Regions from separate parts of the Homo sapiens genome. Here all the other regions are linked to region 1. The links are contacts of gene promoters, found by promoter capture Hi-C in blood cells and fetal thymus (Javierre and others, 2016). All regions are on one chromosome and are shown on one strand. Each heading gives the region's core, a stretch centred on a gene start or on the middle of the fragment in contact. The rest is flanking DNA. Distances are from core to core; before and after follow the strand shown. Region 1 holds the start of HOXC8 (homeobox C8). Region 2 overlaps CBX5 (chromobox 5). Region 3 overlaps LOC105378250 (a long non-coding RNA gene).

Evidence for each region. Contacts are between HindIII fragments. The CHiCAGO score rates a contact against its expected background, and 5 or more counts as called.
Region 2: a contact is called between a fragment that was not itself captured here and the fragment with the promoter of HOXC8 in region 1, in 5 of 17 cell types (naive CD8 T cells, naive CD4 T cells, total CD4 T cells and 2 more). The highest score is 9.3, in naive CD8 T cells.
Region 3: a fragment that was not itself captured here is called in contact with the fragment with the promoter of HOXC8 in region 1 in 1 of 17 cell types (erythroblasts); the score reaches 5.2 in erythroblasts.

What each region holds. Positions count from the first base shown.
Region 1 is chr12:54,007,514-54,010,932 of GRCh38, forward strand. It overlaps HOXC8 (homeobox C8), which reads left to right and starts at 1,472. Exons shown (of 2, transcript NM_022658.4): 1 at 1,472-2,207. The coding sequence starts at 1,772. The HindIII fragment of the contact is 5,152 bases long and covers 710-3,419 here.
Region 2 is chr12:54,227,507-54,231,066 of GRCh38, forward strand. CBX5 (chromobox 5) reads right to left here. Exons shown (of 5, transcript NM_012117.3): 5 at 3,436-3,560. Among named protein-coding and RNA genes, the nearest start is that of MIR3198-2, 2.2 kb to the right of the region's middle. The HindIII fragment of the contact is 5,473 bases long and covers 1-3,560 here.
Region 3 is chr12:53,779,319-53,782,878 of GRCh38, forward strand. All of the region lies in intron 1 of LOC105378250 (a long non-coding RNA gene), which reads left to right. Among named protein-coding and RNA genes, the nearest start is that of CISTR, 29 kb to the left of the region's middle. The HindIII fragment of the contact is 3,886 bases long and covers 116-3,560 here.

The sequences.
Region 1 (3,419 bases), core at 222-2,721:
CCTGGGTGTGCACATGTGCGTACAGTGTCTGTGAGGTGGCAGGGATGCTTCCAGGCATGTGTGTGCTAGTTTACACTGAGCATGGACTTGATGTGTCTCAGGGTGAAAAGTAGCACGTACAGTGTGTGTGTGTCCTGAGTGTGCTCTAGGATTTCCTGGGTGTAACAGCCTCACACCCTGGTGAGGGAGAGGACTGGAAAAATAATTCTTACTCATCTTTTTCATTCATATGCACACAGCATGCATGTATTCTCACCTTCTCCCTTTTTCTCTCTGTCTGTGTTAAGCCCAAATCACTGTACACACTTATGGCCAGAGAAGGGTGCTGATGGACTAAGGTTCTTTAATCCATTAGAATTAACTTGAACGTATTCAGTCTTGGGGATGGGGGAACCCTCCAGAGAAAGTGTGGATAAATATTTAAAGAGTGTCTGTTGATAGTTCCCATCCACATCCTGGCCTGGGCAGCCTGCCTGGGGAAGAGGGAGCTGCAGTGAAGCCAGGGGCCCCACCAGGCTGAGCTGGCATTTCCTATGGCATGGGGGTATGTGGGGACAAGTAAGAGGCCTGCTCCAGTCCCCTCCAACTCAGATGCAAATAGTCTCCTAAGAAGAAATGTCCTGAATCAGCCCAGCTAGAAACCAGGGACACACAGCTGCCCTTTCCTTTTAGTCTCCATAAGCAGCTTTGCTCTCAGAGCCCCTAGCCAAGCTTGTGGCCATTGCCTGGGTTTCCTGCTCCATGCAGGGGCTCGTGTCTGAAGGGGCAGTGTGGCCCTGACTGGGTATATGGAGTTTTCCCCAGCCCCACCTCCTCTGACCCTCTCCTCTACCCATAGCAGGTAGCAAGAGAGTCTCCTGGATCTAAGGAAGAAGACAGAACAGCTTCGGACCCTGGGGAGGGGCCAGGGGATGGAGGGTCTGATGCCTGAAGTATTTGGGAGTATGGTGTGCTTGTTCCTCCTCAAAGTCTCCAGACTTAGGGACCCCCTAGGAAGCCCATCTTTTGGGTTAGGGGCCCTGCTCTGGCTTGCAGGTATTCATCCCCTTGGAGGTCTTATACCTGTTGAGGTAACCTGGGTTGACCTGCTGGCTCAGGTATCTCTCTCTCTCTGAGAAGAAGGAAAAGAGAAGCGAGGCTGGGGGCGAGAGGCACCTTCACATCTAAATTCGTACCCTGGAAAACTGGCCCCAGCCATTAGCTGGGGCTGGCTCACCACCCCCCTACACACACCACACACCCCCATCCCTCCCCCTCTCCTCCCCTCCCCTTCCTCCAGGTCCCCCCAGCCCTGTACCCCTCAACCCCCGCCATCTCTCTCTCTCTCTCTCTCTCTCTCTCTCTCTCTCTCTCTCTCTCTCTCTCTCTCTCGCCTGTCTTCATGTCGTGGATTGATGAACGCGAATCGCGTGTAAGCGCCGCCACCGCCGGGAGTCTGAGGAATTCGCCTGGGCTGTTAGAGGAAAGAGCTAAGTGAGAGAGCGCGAGCTCTACCTACCGACAGTGAGGAGCGCCGCCGCCGCCGCCGCCGCCCGCTCGCCGCCCGCCGCCGCCGCCGCCCGCGCCCCAGCCCCGGGAGCTCTGCTGATCCGGCCGAGCTCAGCACCGAGGCGCCCCCCAACCTGCCCAGCCCCCAGCCCACCAGCCCAGCCCAGTCCCGGGGAGCCAGCTGGCCTGGGGTTCGGTCCCGGGGGGAGGGGAGTTTCGGGGGTACTGGGCGGGGTACTCGTGAGCCAGAGGGGAGGGGGCCGCGGGTTTTCATGTACCCAGCATGAGCTCCTACTTCGTCAACCCCCTGTTCTCCAAATACAAAGCCGGCGAGTCCCTGGAACCGGCCTATTACGACTGCCGGTTCCCTCAGAGCGTGGGCAGGAGCCATGCGCTGGTGTACGGGCCCGGCGGCTCGGCGCCCGGCTTCCAGCACGCTTCGCACCACGTTCAAGACTTCTTCCACCACGGCACCTCCGGCATCTCCAACTCAGGCTACCAGCAGAACCCGTGCTCGCTTAGCTGCCACGGAGACGCCTCCAAATTCTATGGCTACGAGGCGCTCCCCAGACAGTCCCTTTATGGGGCTCAGCAAGAGGCGAGCGTGGTGCAATATCCCGACTGTAAATCCTCCGCCAACACTAACAGTAGCGAAGGACAAGGCCACTTAAATCAAAACTCGTCTCCCAGCCTCATGTTTCCATGGATGAGACCCCACGGTGAGAAGCCTTTTCTCTTTCCCCCTTGGTCTCCCGCGCTCCAGGGTTTCCCCCCCTCCCTCGCCTCCTTTTTGTCTGCCCTCGCTTTTTCTCCTGGCTTTGGGGTCTCTCCCGCCCCACCCCCGTGCCTGTGCCTGGGTGGTTTTCTCGAAGTTGGGAAGGCTCCGCTGGGGCGGGGCAGGGAGGGGGTGCCTAGAACATTTAGGGGATTGGGGTGAAGGTGAGAGAAAGCTGGTGTGTGGCCGCAAAGGGTTAAAAATCGTTTTCTCCATCTCTGTCTGTCTGTCTCTCTCTGACTCTCCCACTCCCCATCTCTAAAGTCAAAGTTGGGGAGGTGGCTGGGAATGGTACCCTGAGTACCCTGAGACTGTCAGCCTTTGGAACAAACCAGTTTCTCCAGAGGCAGGGAGCCTGGAGTCCAGGACACTGGCCAGGCTGTCTTGGGGCAAAGGGAGACAGACCCCTGTTGCTCTGCCCTAGCCAGAGTGTGGTGAGACTCTAAGGACAGGCTCTCTGGCTCTCTAGGGCACCCATAACCTCCTCTCAGAGAACCAGCCTGAGGGCCACTACCCCAACTTTTTTATACTTCCCCCAGTTGGGAGAAGACGGGGGAGCCTGAGAGGAGGGGGAAAAAAGAGTGCTCAAAAGGAGAGAGGCCATAGAGATTAGGGGTTCCTGAGGTCCAGAAGACCCTAGCCGCCCCCCCAATCAAGGACTTGTGGGGTCTCCCTGAGACCTGCAGAGTAGCTTAGGTCATGAGCCCCTCCAAGGGTGGCCCCTCATGGCCCAATTTCGAAGTACAGGGGGAAGCGATAAAGCGACAAGTTCCGGCGGGGATGGCCCATGATTTATTTGCTGGTCTCCAGTTAGCAATCAGGCGGAGCGGTGACACATTCCAGCAGATCAATTATTTTTCTTATTGGAAAAGCATTAGGCAGAGAGAGACAAGGAGAGGGCAGTGGGCAGAGCCCCTCTTCTTTACCCCCAGCTTTTTTTCCTTTCTTTTGGAAACAGTCTGTCCCCAGCCTCGCTCACTAAATGCCCTGCTGCACTTGTAAACAAAGCTGCAAAGGCCAGTTCCTAGGATTACAGGCCTGGTGGGGGGGATTCTACAGGGCTCCCCAGCCCCTGAAAGGCCCCAGTTTCCAAACAGACCCTAGCCCCCACCCCCACCCCACCTCCCAAGGTGAAGCCAAACAAAAACAATCCCCC
Region 2 (3,560 bases), core at 273-2,772, 220 kb after region 1:
AAGACATGTGGCTGCACCACACCCTTGAGCAGCAGGGAGCCCCAGCCCTGCTCTCTCCTGGGAGCATTGTGGCAGCCCCATCCTCTCTATCTCCCAGCTCCATGCGCAGACAGGACTAGAAGGGTAAGGCAGGAACTAGAGCAAGGGGGTATGTGACAGAGGACAGGCCCAGGCGTCTAGGAGCTGGGCTGTCCTGGCTCCTACCAAGAATAGCTGAAATGTACAGAAGCAGAGGATTATAGTGTGGAGTGGAGTGGGGAGAAGCAAAGGGGAAACAGGCTGCATAAGTAAGTGCTGCATGGAAACAGTCTGAAGGAATGGACTCTCCCATTCCTTCCTACACAGCAAAGGCAAGGACCCTAGTTTACCTGCCCTCCTACCTCAACCCCATCTCCACCCCCTATCCCTACCCCTACCCTTGCTGCAGATGTAGAAGCAGAATTTCTTTTTGTTCTTTTTTTTTTGAGACAGAGTTTTGCTCTTGTTGCCCAGGCTGGAGTGCAGTGGCATGATCTCGGCTCACCGCAATCTCTGCCTCCCGGGTTCAAGCAATTCTCCTGCCTCAGCCTCCCTAATAGCTAATTTTGTAAGAATTTCATAAGCTGCAGCAGCTGTGGTCAATACCTCAGCTTCCTACCAGCTTCCTTCTCCAGAAGATAGCAGCAGCAGAAAGAGGAATTAAAAGGAAAGGCTACAATAATAACCCTAAACCTTTTCATCTCAGCAGCCCCCAAATATATCAGCAAGCTCGATTCTCAGCATCTCTTCCTCCCTCCTTGGCTCATAACCAAATGATCAAACAACGCTTTGCTGAGACGAGGCATGAGGCTATTGAGCCAGCATCACCTCTCCCAGTGTGGGAGGGGGCATCACATTATACACATAAACAGAAGCACCTGTTTCCAGAAGCAGCATGGGGGAGAAAGAGCTCATAAAGAGTCCCAGATTGTTATAAGAAATAATTTGATGGGGTTAAAATTAAATGTCCAAATTGAGGTTGCTTATGGAATTTAAAGGGGATGTTGAGAACATGGGGTGGAGAGACTAGAAAAGGAAGAAAAGAAGACAAAGAGAAAAATACACACAATATAGTAGACAAAGGGGAGAAACCATAAAAAATACAGCCTCACAAATAAATGCAGAAGCTAAGAGAGAGGAGGGAGCCAGCAACTGGAAAGCAAGATGTTACAGCTGCGGAGTGGGAGGGGAAAGCAGGAGAGCAACAGGGAAGAGGAAAAAAGGCCAAGTAGCCAAAGAGCTGAGAATCAGACCCTTCCCTTCATCTGTCTTCATCTTCTCTGTGACTTTAAGCAGGTGAATTCTTGGGGTATTCTCACAGTGGCTGCTGCCTCATCTTGGCCTGAACAACAGAATCCCCGCAATGCCTGTGTGGCATGCCCACACACACCAGTTGGCCCCCAGCTTTCACCTTGTCTTCCTGTTCCCCAACACAGATGCACAAGTCACTCTCAAGGCTTGGGGAGCACTTTGGTGTGTCCACAGGATATAATGGGCTCTCCTCTGCACACACTCACATTCAGCAGCCCTCAGTACTGGGGCTTTCACCCCCAGCTCACACTTACTTCCAAAGAGCAGAGGCTGAGGGCTGCTGACTCTTAACAGAGCGATTTAGAACTGTGTGCTCAGGCCAGGCGCTGTGGCTCACACCTGTAATCTCAACACTTTGGGAGGCCGAGGCGGGCAGATCACTTGAGGTCAGGAGTTCGAGACCAGCCTTGTCAACATGGGGAAACCCTGTCTCTACTAAAAAAAAAAAAAAAAAAAAAAAAAAATTAGGCTGGGCACAGTGGCTCACGCCTGTAATCCTAGCTACTCAGGAGGCTGAGAGAGGAGAATCGCTTGCACCCGGGAGGCGGAGGTTGCAGTGAGTTGAGATCATGCCATTGCACTCCAGCCTACGCAACAAGAGCAAGACTCTGTCTCAAACAAAACAAAACAAAAATTAGCCAGGTGTGGTGGTGGGCGCCTGTAGTCCCAGCTACTCGGGAGGTTGAGGCAGGAGAATCGCTTGAACCTGGGAGGCAGAGGTTGCAGTAAGCCAAGATTACGCCACTGCACTCCAGCCTTGGCAAAAGAGCGAGACTCCATTTCAAAAAAAAAAAAAAAGAAAAACATAGAACTGTGTGCTCAGTGATCCAATGAAGGGGATTCCCACACAGTGATCCTCCATTTTCCCCAGGCTGCCAGTGCTGCACTGATTTCACAAGCTCTGAAGCTCTTTAATGAAGACAAAAGGAGAGGCAAAATTGCCCAGTTCCTGACTTCTCCAGCACACTGAGGCAAGATTCCTGGGAGGAGAGCTATGAGCAATGATGAGGTCATCTGAATGAACGCCATGCAGGCACAGCCCCTCACTGAGGGAAACAAAAACCAAGACATAGTTTAGGAATACAAGCGTGGGTGTCAAAACCCTGGAGTTGTGCTTTCCAGTGGGCCTGAGACAGAGACAAAGTGACATGATGTTTAGAGAGCAAGAAAGAGATCGAAAGGGAAGAGGGCAAGCAGTCTCAGGCTTCCATGGTAGGAAATAAATAATGTCCAGAAGGGTCTGGCTCTGAAGTGGACCAAATGGCTCTCCTGTCCCATGTTTATGAGGTCATGGACCATTAAGCCAGCCAACCTACAGATGTCTTCATAAGACTTTACGAGATTAGACTGGGGAGACCCTATAACTCAGCAAGAAAGGAAAACAAGAGGGGAGAATTGCAGGTAAGAGATGGTAGAAACAAGTGCTCCGCTCCAGAGGCCTCACATATCAGTGGGAGGATATCTGGGTTTGGTGACCCCTTCATCTTCCTCACTTCTCTCTTCTGTGAGTTTCTGCCTATCTCCATTAGATTCAGGGCTACATCAGGCTTATATTATTCGATAATTTCTTGATTATCCACATACTTTCCTCCTCCTAACTTCCAACTGACCTCACACCATGTTCCTGACCTGCAAGCCTTCCATCCTCAGAGAAGTTTCTTTGGTATTTGTGAAGCAAATCAGAAAGATAAAATACAAAGTTTACAAATTCACATATTTTCAAACCTGATTTAGACTGCATTTGCTTGATGTGGTATTCCATAAGTTCTAATAGCCATGAGATGACTCTTCCAGGGATCCCTAGGTTGCTGAAGCCTAATATTTATTCTCTGAACCATTAGGAGCAGAGAAGAGCATGGAAACCAGGAAAGGTACACACTGAACCAGTTAAGGAAATAAGAGTAGGAAACAGGATACGCATTATCTTATTTCCTCAGGCTTGCGCCAACCTGTGGTTATTTGCAGAAAGTCAGAGACCAATAATCCTTAGAAAAGAAGCCCATGTTCTCCAAGTCTTGTTGCTCTTTCAGAAATTGAGCTGACACTCCAGGGCCCAAATTAAAGAAGGGGCATAAGACCCAGATCTTTAAACCACCACTCAGAATCCATATTTGAAAAGCAACCATTTATTAGAACCAATACAAGAGTATGAAAAGGGGGAAAAGAGGAGGGTAGAAGAGGGGGAGAGAATGAGGTCTGCATCAGATGTCAGTTATGGAAACACATAAATG
Region 3 (3,560 bases), core at 809-3,308, 230 kb before region 1:
CTCCAAAGTGTTTACCAGTAGCAGGCCCAAGGGTATCTGATTAGAGTTCTCAGAGATTCAAGGTAAATTATACAGAATAAAACAGTCTTTATTTTCTCATGAGGGCCAGCCAACAAGCTTAAGTTTCAGTGGGTGATTTTGAGGCTAGACATTTAAAAAGATGAATTCATTTTCAAAGTTGGAGGACTTTGGATCAAATTTTAATATTAAGTATTAGGTAGATTGTATTAAGTACATATTGTTTTGCTAAGTACTGAGCTAAGTACTTTTCAAGCATTACTGCATTTGATCTTCCTAACAACCCTATGAAGTTTATTTACTCCCATTTTTCAGTTGTGGAAACTAAAGCACATAGAGGGTAAATAATTTGTCCAGAGACAAAATTAGCTGGGCATGGTGGCGAGTGCCTTTAATCCTAGCTACTTGGGAGGCTGAGGCAAGAGAATCACTTGAATCCTGGAGGCTGAGGTTGCAGTGAGCTGCGATCGCGCCACTGCACTCCAGTCTGGGTGACAGAGCAAGACTCCGTCTCAAAACAAAACATAAATAAATAAATAAATAAATAAATAAATAAATAAATAAAATAAGGATAAGAATCTGTCCAAAATCATGTAGCTGTGAAATGGTTGAGCTGAGATTTGACCCCAGCAGTCTATCTACAGAGCTCTTACTCTTAACTAGTAAACTACGCTGCCTTCCTGTGAAGGAAAGTTTTAGAGTCTCGTCCCTTTTAAATCTAGGACAGGTTCTTGTCATTTGGGATGGTTTAGAGCAGTCACAAGAAGTAAGGGGCTAGTTGTAAAATAATCTCCAGAGGGTAAGGATATGAAGTTTGAAAATATTCCCCAGGTATCTTAATTATGGCCCCTCGAGTGACAACCTCTGGCTTAGGGGATGTCCTACGGAGAGCTGAGCATGATGCCTTCAGATAAGTAGGGACCTGCTAACTGAGGGTTAGAAGGTTCCCTGCAATCCAAGGCAGGCTGATATTTCTAAAACAAGCATCCACAATGGCAAACAATTCTTTATCGCCTACATGTGGCTTATACATGCCATGAATTATCTGCGGTCAAGGTTTTATCACAGTTGGTTTTCCCTTCACGCTTTTCATTTTGATTGCCTTCTACAAGGAATGTAATACCATTTATATATTTACCTGAGTCAGATTTATAAAGGTTGCTTGGCTACAAAGTATGTATCTCAAAGTCAAGCAGATAGGAATTTTGGATTATCTGCTCTTTCAGGTTTTCTCTTCTCTGTTTGTACATTTGTTCAACAAATATTTATTAGCTCCTAACTCAGAGTCTAGTGGAGGAGACAGGCAGCTGAACTGGAATCTTGATAATTTATGCCAAGTGGGGCAAGCACAGATGCTATGAGAGGATATAGGAAGGGCACCTAATCCAGAGAAAAAGCCAGGGGAGGCTTCCCAGGGAAGCAATTTCTAAACTGGGAATTGAAAAATAAGTAGGAATCCGCTGAGTGAAAGGGCCGAGCGGGGATTAGAGGCAGGGGAGCAGGGTGAGTGGAACTGCATGGCAGGAGCACGACCTGGGAAGATGATGGTACTAGAGGAATAAGCAGAGTGAAATTATGAAGAAATTGGGAAGGGCTAGGCTAAGGACTTTAGACTTTATCCTGAGGGCAGAAGGGAACCACGGAAGGGTTTTAAGTGGGGGAACAACTCAATCAGATTTATAGTTTAGAAAGAGTCCATGAGTTAAAAATTGACTGTGTATCTACCCCACTTACTTGCAAGGAAATCATAATATTGGGACTGGTAATATTACGGCAAATAAAGGAGTCTAGATGGATTTGTAGAGAGATGATTTGATCCAATAACCCAAGAGTCCCTTTGGATAATCTGTAGAGAAGAGTTTTCAATTTTGACTTGATCTTTCTGTTTTTATAAACCTGTTAACATCTCCTGAAATTCCTGAAGTTCTCTCAAAACCAAAGCCTGAGTAGGGAGGAAAGTGTGAGCCTTGTGTCTTGGTTTTCTCTGTTCCCCACTACTCATTTCCGGGGCATTGCTGTGAATAGTTCATCCAAGCCCTGCGCCCCATGAGGAAGGGACCATTTGAATAGCAGCAGGAGAGGAGGGGAAGGAGGAACCACACGCCAGGCTCGTTCATTAAGAAAATATATTTGGCATATTCAGACAATGGTTTGAGCAAGTTAAAAATAACTCCTCGTGAAAAATTAATAGGGAGTTATAAGTGAGTGTTTTAATACAAGCTCCCAGAGCAGGGCAGATTCTCCAGGCAGCTGGCAGCTGACATCACAGATGGTGCAGGGTGTTTATAGAGCATGGTGTGGCCAGTGAGTAGAGTCATCTGCAGAAGTGAGCTCACCTTCTCTCCCAGAACCCTGGGGAGAGAGGAGACAGTAGGAATTGTTTTTAGTTATGAGTTACTGAGCCAGGTGACTTATTTCTTCTCTCCCTACCCATCACACTCTCCTAACTGTGGACATAAACATTGTAGTGAATTTTGCCTTGTTGCTTTGGGTAAGGTTTATTGAATGTCAGAATTCATAAAAGTCTTTTCTGGCCCTTCTCCTTTCTTAGTAATAGACCCTTAGTTGGCTGCAGGATCCATTTCTGCAGTGTTTCCTTACCCAAGGACCAGCTCCTCTCTCTCTCTTGCAGATAGTTATAAAGTCTCTGCCCCATTCTCCCTCTTCCTCTCTTTTCACAGTGCCCCTCTGATTCTAGGGAAGTAAAACGAAGAATTGGACTCTACATTCTTTGCCATCAGAACAGCTAAGTTGATAAAGCAGAATGAGGAGAAAGGAGGCTAGCTGCATTTTGGGGCTAAGGGTTTTAAGACTGGGGAGACCAATATTTGTATTTTAAACCCAGATGATATTTAAAAAATGGTTCTGTAATTGCAATGAGGCCCTCTAGGCCGTGAATTAATGTGTCATAACTCACGCCCAAGCACTGCGCAAACATTCTGCGTGTGAATTATTGCACAATAAATTCATGCCCTGTTGTGTCTTACAGCTTAATTAGTACATGAAGCTACATGAGTTAGACGAACCCAAATGGGATTATGTCATGTGGTGCGTAAAAAAGCAAAATGTTGGGAGGTATTTGGAGCTTTTTCTGGGGGGAAAGCAGGGTTGATTTTTCTATGATGTCCTTCAGTGTCAGTTTCTGTGATGTTTGGGCTGCAACAGGTGACATGTTCCCTGACATGTGACTTCTGAGCTTTGGTTGGCTGGTTAAATAATGGATTTAGTAAATATTTATTGTATATCATGTTCTAGGCATTATGAAACGATAGCACATGTAATGAAGTATGGCCCCTGCCCTTAAGGAGCTTATATTCTAATACAAAAAGTAAGGTATAGCCGCAATACAAAGTAGAAAGTGATAAGTGCCATAAGTAACATATGAGTAAATAAAGGGTCTTGGGAATTCAGAGTGGAGGATGATCCTTTTGGGTTGGCACAGTGGTGAGGGTTGATTGGTGAAATCAGAGACATTTTTTGGAGGAATGGCATTTGAGTTGGCTCTCTTAAAGGACAGATAGGATTTCACCACCTGGGCAGGT